Linked DNA regions of Homo sapiens: all the other regions are linked to region 2. Evidence: promoter capture Hi-C in 16 types of primary human blood cells and fetal thymus (Javierre and others, 2016). All regions are on one chromosome and are shown on one strand. Each heading gives the region's core, a stretch centred on a gene start or on the middle of the fragment in contact. The rest is flanking DNA. Distances are from core to core; before and after follow the strand shown.

What was found. Contacts are between HindIII fragments. The CHiCAGO score rates a contact against its expected background, and 5 or more counts as called.
Region 1: a fragment that was not itself captured here is called in contact with the fragment with the promoter of TBC1D22B in region 2 in 1 of 17 cell types (activated CD4 T cells); the score reaches 5.1 in activated CD4 T cells.
Region 3: the fragment with the promoter of CPNE5 here is called in contact with the fragment with the promoter of TBC1D22B in region 2 in 1 of 17 cell types (total CD4 T cells); the score reaches 6.1 in total CD4 T cells.

Annotation. Positions count from the first base shown.
Region 1 is chr6:36,905,444-36,908,229 of GRCh38, reverse strand. The region is part of intron 4 of C6orf89 (chromosome 6 open reading frame 89); the gene reads right to left. Among named protein-coding and RNA genes, the nearest start is that of C6orf89, 21 kb to the right of the region's middle. The HindIII fragment of the contact is 207 bases long and covers 1,227-1,433 here.
Region 2 is chr6:37,256,323-37,259,182 of GRCh38, reverse strand. TBC1D22B (TBC1 domain family member 22B) reads right to left here and starts at 1,411. Exons shown (of 13, transcript NM_017772.4): 1 at 1,210-1,411. The coding sequence starts at 1,265. TMEM217B (transmembrane protein 217B) reads left to right here and starts at 1,039. Exons shown (of 2, transcript NM_001395378.1): 1 at 1,039-1,615. It overlaps TMEM217 (transmembrane protein 217), which reads left to right and starts at 1,039. Exons shown (of 3, transcript NM_001286401.2): 1 at 1,039-1,615. RefSeq lists enhancers at 409-1,044, 1,131-1,190, 1,291-1,350 and a silencer at 1,451-1,580. The HindIII fragment of the contact is 5,135 bases long and covers 1-2,576 here.
Region 3 is chr6:36,838,125-36,841,110 of GRCh38, reverse strand. CPNE5 (copine 5) reads left to right here and starts at 1,667. Exons shown (of 21, transcript NM_020939.2): 1 at 1,667-1,828. The coding sequence starts at 1,734. RefSeq lists an enhancer at 1-309 and a silencer at 994-1,203. The HindIII fragment of the contact is 11,867 bases long and covers 154-2,986 here.

The DNA.
Region 1 (2,786 bases), core at 81-2,580, 350 kb after region 2:
TCACTGGAATGGGGTAGCCTATGCCATCCACCTGAACTAAGGGAGCCCAAACTTTAAAAGAAAGAACTACTTTTGATTTCTCTGTAGCCTGAGATCACCAAGGTGGATAAAGCATAAGCTTAGAGAGAGGAACGGGCAAACGGTGAACTAGGGGTGGAGGTAGGGTGCAGGCTCCTCTTCCTCTCCCCACAGAGTCCCTGACAACAGAAAGAGATGTGGCCAGACTCCAGCTTGGCCTCTGTCCATCTGAAAAGGTTTTGTCTGACGTGTTCTCTATACAACTGGCTGGAGCCATCATGCCACAAAGTGAACAAAATTCCATCCTGGGAAACAGCCAACAGCACACAGCCAGCCGAGCCCATGCCACCCTAGTTTACGGCTTTTGACTACCTAATATGCTGCATCTCACTTCTTTCCAGCCCTCCTGTTTCTAACCACTTTTCCTGAAGCACCAGACAGAAAAGTCAGCGTAAATTATATAGCAACTTCCTACTTTTAATTTCTAAGGCTTCTTTACTCCAGATATCCCTCATACCAGATATTTTAAACATTTTTTAAAGGTATGACAGAGAAGAGAAATCCTACATATAAAAGTTCAATAAAGCTTATAACTTGTATTTCAAGTTTTCACTATGATTTGGAATGATTTCACTGTTGGAGATGTCAAAAACAGTCTCTCAGACAAAACACAGCCTTGAAGTCAACGTGCAGAGACCATAACTATCCACCCTTCTTTACAAGTTGGGCACTGGGCAGAAAAATGGATGGGCCAGCGTCTCACCCATCAGGGAGCTTCCTGGTGCCTGAGAGTTATTTACAAGAAAACTCACTTAGGCTGGTTCTCTGTAGACAACCATAACATATCCTGGAATTCTGAGTGGGGAGAGTACTGTTACATAGATTATTTACCTGGCAAAAACAAAACAAAACAAAACAAAACAAAACAAAACAAAAGATTTCTTTCCAGGACAAAAAACTCCCTCTGGATAAAAAGGATAGGGAAGAAAGAAAAGAACAAAGCCAATACTAGCTCTACAAGAGCAGTGGTTTTGTCTGTTTTGTTCACTGCTTTGTTGAGAACAGTGCCTGGCATATATAGCAGGGTCTCAATAAACATTTACTGAATGAGTGAATGAAGTTGGGGAGAGGGAGGAAGGGATGGAAGGAGGAAAAGAAGGAGGGAGGAAGGCAGGAAGGCAGGCAGGAAGGCTGATTTTTCAGAAGCTTTAACAATAGAATTAAGTCCATGGGGAGAAAAATCAAATGAGCAATCTGGATTCACAGAAACCTCAAAATAAAGATTAAATAAATATAACTTCATCATTTCTTGCATTATAAATATAGCCAAGAAAACCCTGCAAAGCCCATGACAAAGTTCCCATGACTTTCACTAGTGTGTGCTCAATATTTAATCAGGCTGCTCTCCAGAAGCTTGTTTGTGCATAGCACCTCTTCTAGTACCCCGGGCATGAGGCAGGGGTGAAGCCTTGACAATGAAGGAGGCTTCTGCCAGGTCCCTGCATGTGTGGCACCATGCCCAGAGCCATTTTCACACACCGTAGAGGGAAAGAGCCCAAGAAATCATTTCACCAACAGCCTTGCCTCCAGGAAGCAATGCATTTGAACCACTCCAAACCACAGAGAAAGTCTATTTTCATGAGTTCTCACTTGTACAAAAATTTGTTTCTAAATGTGAAAATTTATTATCAAAAACACAGCAAAAGAAAAAATTAAAAATAAATAAATGTGAGACTTCAGATAAGTCAGTCAATCCCCTTGCACATCAGTTTCCTCATCTTTGAAATGAACATAAAAACAGTATCTACCTTATGTGACTGCTGTGAAGACTGAGAAATAAACTGCACGGCACAGTACCTGGTATACAGTAAGTGCTTGACAGAGCTGTTATTATCACAGAAGGTAAGCTTATTTTGCAAATAAAAGAGGAAGGTTTTCCTTGCGGTCTAAGCAGTTCATCTTTGAGCACAGATCTGGACTCTCTAAGTCTTACTAGATTCTTAGTTTGAGGCCAATAAATGATTTGCTATTTCCAAAACTTCTTGATGTTGCTGGATCTACTTCATCCTTCCTTTGAAGGTTACGGGATGCATCGAGTTCCAAATGTGTGCCTTTTCACTGTATGTGAGAACTATCCCAGGCTTCCTCAGTAGAAATGAATATGTTATTTTTAAGTTGGCCAGAAAATGACCAAAGTAAAAAAAATAATTGGCTGAACATGCTAGCGCCTGGCTTGACTGAGGGCAGAGATGGCAGGCTGTAAGTGTGATATCTTGGACAGAATGCTAGAGGGAGTTAAGAAACTAGGGTTCAAGTGTGATTTTGCCACTTTTAGCTGGGTAAGCAAGCTCCTTTACCTCTCCTGGCCTCAGTTACCTCTTTTATAAAATGGGGTATGTACTAGATTAACTCTAAAATTCTTTTCTGGCTTTAAGACTCAATGATTCCATGGAAATGGTAAAAACCAAGGGGATGGCCGGCAGGAGTAAAGTGACTATAAAGATATGAAGCCAGGAGGGGAGAAAAGCAGTAAGAATGTGAATGTAAAGAGAAAACTCTGGGTCAGTAAGAGGAAGGATTAAGTCAGTCAAATATTATCCATAAGGGTGCAGACTAGGGAGGATGAACTGGGCTGAATGTCAGGGTGCAGACTAGGGAGGATGAACTGGGCTGAATGTCTAAGACAACACCAGGTCGGGAAAATTCTAAAGGGTCAGAAGCTTGGAAGACCACTTATCTTTGGAACAGCCAGAAAGAATATTGTCTCT
Region 2 (2,860 bases), core at 162-2,661:
GAATCCTTAATAAAATAAGACTCTTGGTGGGGCATGGTGGCTAACGCCTGTAATCCCAACACTTTGGGAGGCCAAGGCAAGAGGATCACTTGAGGCCAGGAGTCAGAGACCAGCCCTGGCAACACAGTCAGACCTTGTCTCTATTTCATTTAAAAAAAAAAAAAAAATTAAGGCTCTTACCTAGCCACTACTGACCCTCATCTCTCTCTCGCTTAAAAAAAAAAAGTCACGAGTTCAAAAGATTATCCCAGAAGGAAAAAACCTGAATCCATTAGAAAAGGTAGCACAGGGGACACAACCAAACATGAATTTCATCACCAAGTAGACTGTAGCTGGCAGAAATCTTAAATTTACGACTGAAATACACACTCTTCCTTATACTTCTCAGGACTTTGCCCAAAATAAACTGAAACAGTAAACCAACAGTAGATTGATGGATGGATAATTTGCCAAAAGTCTCAACATACACCGAAAAGAGGGTGGGGGTAGTCTTAGGGGGTCTGCTCTCCAGTTAAACAACTGAAGAATGAACGAATTTAGTGCATTTGCACAAGAAGTGCATTACAATGCAGGGGAGGAAGAAGTCACTTGGGGTTGGACAAATCCTTAGAAAATGCCAAAGGAATAACCCTGATTCTGTGGTCGTCTTGTAATAATTCCTAGTGGGAAAGGGCCAACTCAAGATAAAGTAAGGTCAGGGTTGAGAATCGTCCTCACTTTTCCTGCCTAACCCTCTCGGCAGGCGGCCCCAAACTCCCACCGGAATCCTTCGGGTAAGTGCCGACCTCAGGGATCAAGGGAAGGGGCCATCCTCGAGCGACCAACCACCTGTGCGTGGTGGAGACCCCTGAGAGGGAGTCCTAATTAGAGTGGGAAGCAGCTCTGGGGAGGAACTTCCGAGACCAGGGCCGACACTGACTATTCACCCAACTCCACTCCCCTTTACGCCCAATCTTCGGCCACCTTCCCGCTGAGGTCACCCCTCCTGAAACCTCCGCCCCCAGACCCCGGTCTACACCCACATCCAGCCGTCCCCAAAGCTCGCTGTTCGCTTCGCTGCCTGACAGCTGCCCTGCCGCCACCAGGCAGTCCCAGCTTCCCCAAACCAGTCTTCTGGCCTCTGTGGCGCCCCAGGCCCGCGGGATTCAGGGATTAGGATCTGGAAGGGTTTGGTCCAATCCCCTATCCCTCTCAGCGTCCTGGGCTCACCTCCCCGGCAGCTTAGCGCTCCTCTTCCAAAACTGCTTGCTGTTCTCAGCGGCCATTGCTCTGGCCGGGGGAAGTCCTTGTAGGCGGGCCAAGGGTTTGCCCGGCGAGATGCCCCCAGACCCCGCAATCTGAGGGCCAACCCAGGCCGCTTCCCCGCCGCCGGTCACCCGCTCCCAGCTCCTGGGGACGCCATCTTGGATGTGGGCACCCCTCCACCCAGCACCGCTGCCATTGGTGAGCTGCGCAAGCCGTGGACGGGCCGACCAATTGGGAGCCGGAATCCTGCAGGCCGCTGAAGCCGACCGGTAACGTCAGGGGCTGGGCACACAGGTGGACGGGGAAGGCGGAGCTTGGACGAGCCGAGAGGCGGGGCTCAAAGTTCCTACCCGCGAGAGGGAAGAAGCAGGTAAGGTAAGGGACCTATGGGAAGGAAGAGGGGATTATCTTCTTCGTGAGGAATGAAGTTCCTTAGTCTAATATTTCTTGGCAAGAGAGAACATACTATGTATTTATATATAGGAATCTTTCACCTAAAAGTAAGGGCCCATGTGTTGGTTGTGGCCCATTTTTAACATCTCTCAATTCAATGACACTCTGGTTATTACCCTCCTTTCCTCATTCCGTTTACATGTCCATTCGTTTTTCTGAAGGAAGGTCAGCAGGGACCCGATAGCCCGGGATTGCTAACTGTTCAACACGTGAGCAACGGTTCATCAGAGTCTCCCTCTCCCTCTGTTTATTGAAAACGATTGAAGGACTTGTGCTGTGGGTTAAAAATTCAAATGATCTAATCCCTATGTCAATCCATAACTCTCACTTTCTGACTATGCTAACAGTGTATATAGGAAATGGTTTATGATAGCTGTCCAACTCAGATTACCAAATACCATTTCTTTGAAGGACACAGTATTGCTCCATCGTGTGAATCACAAAGTTAAGGATGTATCTCCTCCCGGCCCCACCAACATCCTTAATTTCCCTTGTTAATCTATTATAAATCTTGCACCCTTGAATTTATTTTCAATCTAATTTTCCCAGACAATGAGATTTAGTATTAGCATTTTGAATCCTTTGAATGTCTTGTCAGCGTTTTTTGCTGGTTTTGAGTTTCTGTGGTTGTATTCCGTGGTGATTTGGGGAAAGAGGGAAGGCGGGCACCAGTCCAGAGTGGTTTTTGTCCCTTCGAAGGACTGTTGAGGTGGGCTGCGTGTCCCCCACCCCCACCCCCACCCTCCATTTACAGCTACCACATGTACTTCCACATATTGGAGAATACTTAAAGACCTGACCCCTGGCCCCAGCCAAAGAAGGACCTTCTTTTATATGTCCTCCAACGACGGTTTCTTCATTACTCCCATTTTCAAGCTTCTTTTGTCCCCTAATTTAAGAATTATAGGATTGGATGACAAGGGCTATTTTTACTTCCTCTGAGTCTTTCATGCTATAAAAGCATCTTATCTTCTTTATGGGCATTTAACCCAGAGAAAAAAAGCCCCTCTATTCTTTTAATTATTTTACTTGCCTTTCTCTGGCGCTTCTTTTTCTTAGGATGCAGTGACCAGCACTGCACACTAAGCCCAAAGAGGGATGTACTGAGGCTTTGTTAAGGCTGATGTTTTGTCTTTATTCTGGACAGCCAGACCTTTTGCTG
Region 3 (2,986 bases), core at 418-2,917, 420 kb after region 2:
CCCTTATGGTCCCGCTGCCACAAACAAGGCCCAGAGAGCGCAACTCTGCCCAGCCCAGCACCAGGTTTTTGGCCTCCCCGCCGGCCCGAGGCACATCGGCTTCGATGTGCCAGGCGGTGGGCGAGGAAGTGGAGGTTCCAGCTCGGCAAAGCTTAGGCTGAGGCTGAGGATGGGCTAGAGTCAAGTCTACGTGTGCAGCCTTACTCAGGGAGACGCCTCTGCGCTGCAACCTCATGCCCGGGAGGGCAAGGCTGGGCTAGGGCGGGGGATCGCGAGGGGCTTGGCTGGGAAGAGGACTGCAGGAGAGGTGTCCCAACTCTCCCCTCGCTCGCCAGGCACACAGCACGCGCCTACTCGGTGCTGGCTGCATAGAAGCCCAGGGAGCTCGGGCCGATCTCCCAGTCTGGTTGCCACCAGACTGGGTGGCAGGAGCTTCTAGACCTGGAGGCTGGCTCAGTCGTGTGGTCACGACGGGCGGGGGAGTGGAAGGGCGCTGGCGCGTGGTTTCGGCAGCCGACTTGGCGAGGCCGCGGCTGGCGGGAACCACGGATGGGGGAGGCGCCCATGCACCGACCCCACCTGGGCCACTGGGAAACCGAGGTAGTCCCTCCTGGCACTGGGGTCGCCCCCACACACCTCCCCAGAAGGAGATGTAGGGTCTGTTTCTGAACTGAGACCCGCCCCCGAGTAGGGCGCACACTCAGCAGAGACCCTCCACACCCAAGCCCCTGGGAGGGGATCTTTTTTGCACACCTCCCTCCCACTTATGCCCCCTCTCAACCCTGCATAGACCTTTCTCAAAAAGGCGCCCGTTGGTTCCCATAACCCTCCCCCTCCCCCAGGATGGAGACCCCTGATGGGAGATAGGGGTGGTGAGAGGGGGCGGGCGCAAATGAAGATGCGCGCGACCAGGACCACCTCTTGCTGTCACCCGCCACGTCCCCAGCATCTGGACCGCGTCCCCCGGCCCGCCACGCGCGCACACACACACACACGCGCACACACACACGCTCACACTCACCCTGCGCGCAGACCCCGCCCGCGGCCCCGCCCCGGCCCCTGCGGGCGCCCCCTCTGGCGTTCCCGGGCGGCGGGAGGCTGCGGCTTCGGGCAGATTTGATTTTCCCGCAGCCCGGGCGCCCCGGAGCCGAAGCCCGAGCCGAGGAGGTGGCGCTCGCAGCCGCGTCTCAGCCCCGTCGCCGCCGGCGCCAAGACCCAGGGAGAGGCGGCGCAGCCCGGGCGCTCGGGCTCCGCGCTGCCGGCGCCCCGCCACCCCCGCCGCCAGCGCCCCATCCGGCGCCTCCCGCTCCTCACGCCCCTCTCCCTGTCTTCTGCATCCCCTCTACCTCTGCCCACAGACGCGCGTCCCTCTCCTGGTGCCCCTCTCCACGACTCCGCGTTTCCCTCCCGGTGCCCTCTCCCCGAGCCCCTCTCCCCGCGCCCCTCTCTGCCTTCCCCGCTGTGCCCCCGCTCCCTGGGCTCCTTGCCCTTCCCCACTGGGCCCCTAGCCTCCTCGCGGCGTCACCCGAGCCCCCTCCTCGATCCGCGGCCCCCGCTCCCTCCGCCCTCTTCCCTCTCTCACTTCCCACGCCCCCTCTTCGCGCTCCTCTCTCCTCCCCTTGCCGCCCAGCCCAGGCTCTGGAGTTGGGGGAGAGCCCAGGGCTCCAGTCGCTCCGGAGGAGGCGTGAATCGCGCAGGGATTGACTAATTTGGGGTGGGGGGTGCGGTGGGCGATGGAGCAGCCTGAGGACATGGCGTCGCTGAGCGAGTTCGACTCCTTGGCGGGCAGCATCCCGGCCACCAAGGTGGAGATCACCGTGTCCTGCAGGTGAGCCTCCCGCTGGCCGGGTCCCCTTGCCCCGGCCCTGGACGCAGAGCCCCGCGGCCCCTGCCGCTTCGATCCTAAACCTCCGCGCGCCCCCTTCCCAGAGTGTCCTGGTCTCCAGGACTGCGCCCCTGCCGATCTGCCAAGAGCCCCTGTCCTGTCCAGCTGCGGGTGGCGACGGCAGAATAGGAAGCCAGGCTGGGGTCATATCCCAGAAAGTTTGCGCTCCAGGCTGTTGCATCGAGGAGATATGAAGACACAGGAACAGGGGGTCCAGGCACCCAAGTGGGGAGAGGGAGTTGGTAAAAGGCTGTACTACGGTCTCTGCTCAGGCTATCTCTGATCACCCCATCCCCAAATCACGAAGTGAGTGATTTGCCCCCATCCCTCCCAGGCTCGTCCACCCTCTCCCTTCTGTGCCCTCCTCTCTTCTCTCTTTGCCCCTTCTTTGCCCCAGCATCCTGATCCTCCCCTCACCAGTCTCCCCCACCCCACTGTCCTAGACTCTAGGATTTTAAAGCCTTCCTTCATCTCTATCAACAACGAAATCGACTCCTGGAAAAGGATCAGATTGACTCATTCATACTAAGGTGTGGATACATGATAACAACTTAAAGTGGCACCATTAAAAAAATAACTTGGGTCAAAAATCTTAAGCCAAAGGAATAGAACACTGATTGTGAAACTGTAGAGTCCAACAGAGGAGGAGGGGGAATATTTTTGTGGGCTACCACGCCCAAATCTTCACTCATGTCACACAGGGTTTGGGGGTAACTTCTCTGTCTAAGAGCTGGGTCGACCCCAGGTTCTCCTAGCTAGGGGAAGGCTGCCCCTGGCAGTAAGAGGGTATGGGTGGCAAAGGGGGATTTTTCCCTAGTTCAGTCTCTCTGTGGCTGGCCTAGGATCATGTGCTGCCACGCAAGCATCACCCACTTTGAGGTTCCCCCACAGAGGCCATGCCCCCTGCCCCAGATCACCGACAGCATTTCTGGAGCCCTGGCTGTGCCCTTGTTCGAAATCACCCATCTCATCCTCTTCCAGGTTGCTCCTTGGTCAGACCCTCCATGAGAGGTAACCTTGTTGCCCCCCAGTCCTGTATTACAAAGTTGTGGCATTGATGAGGTGTAGGTAGAGCTGGAGAGTCTGGGCAGGGGCGTGAAG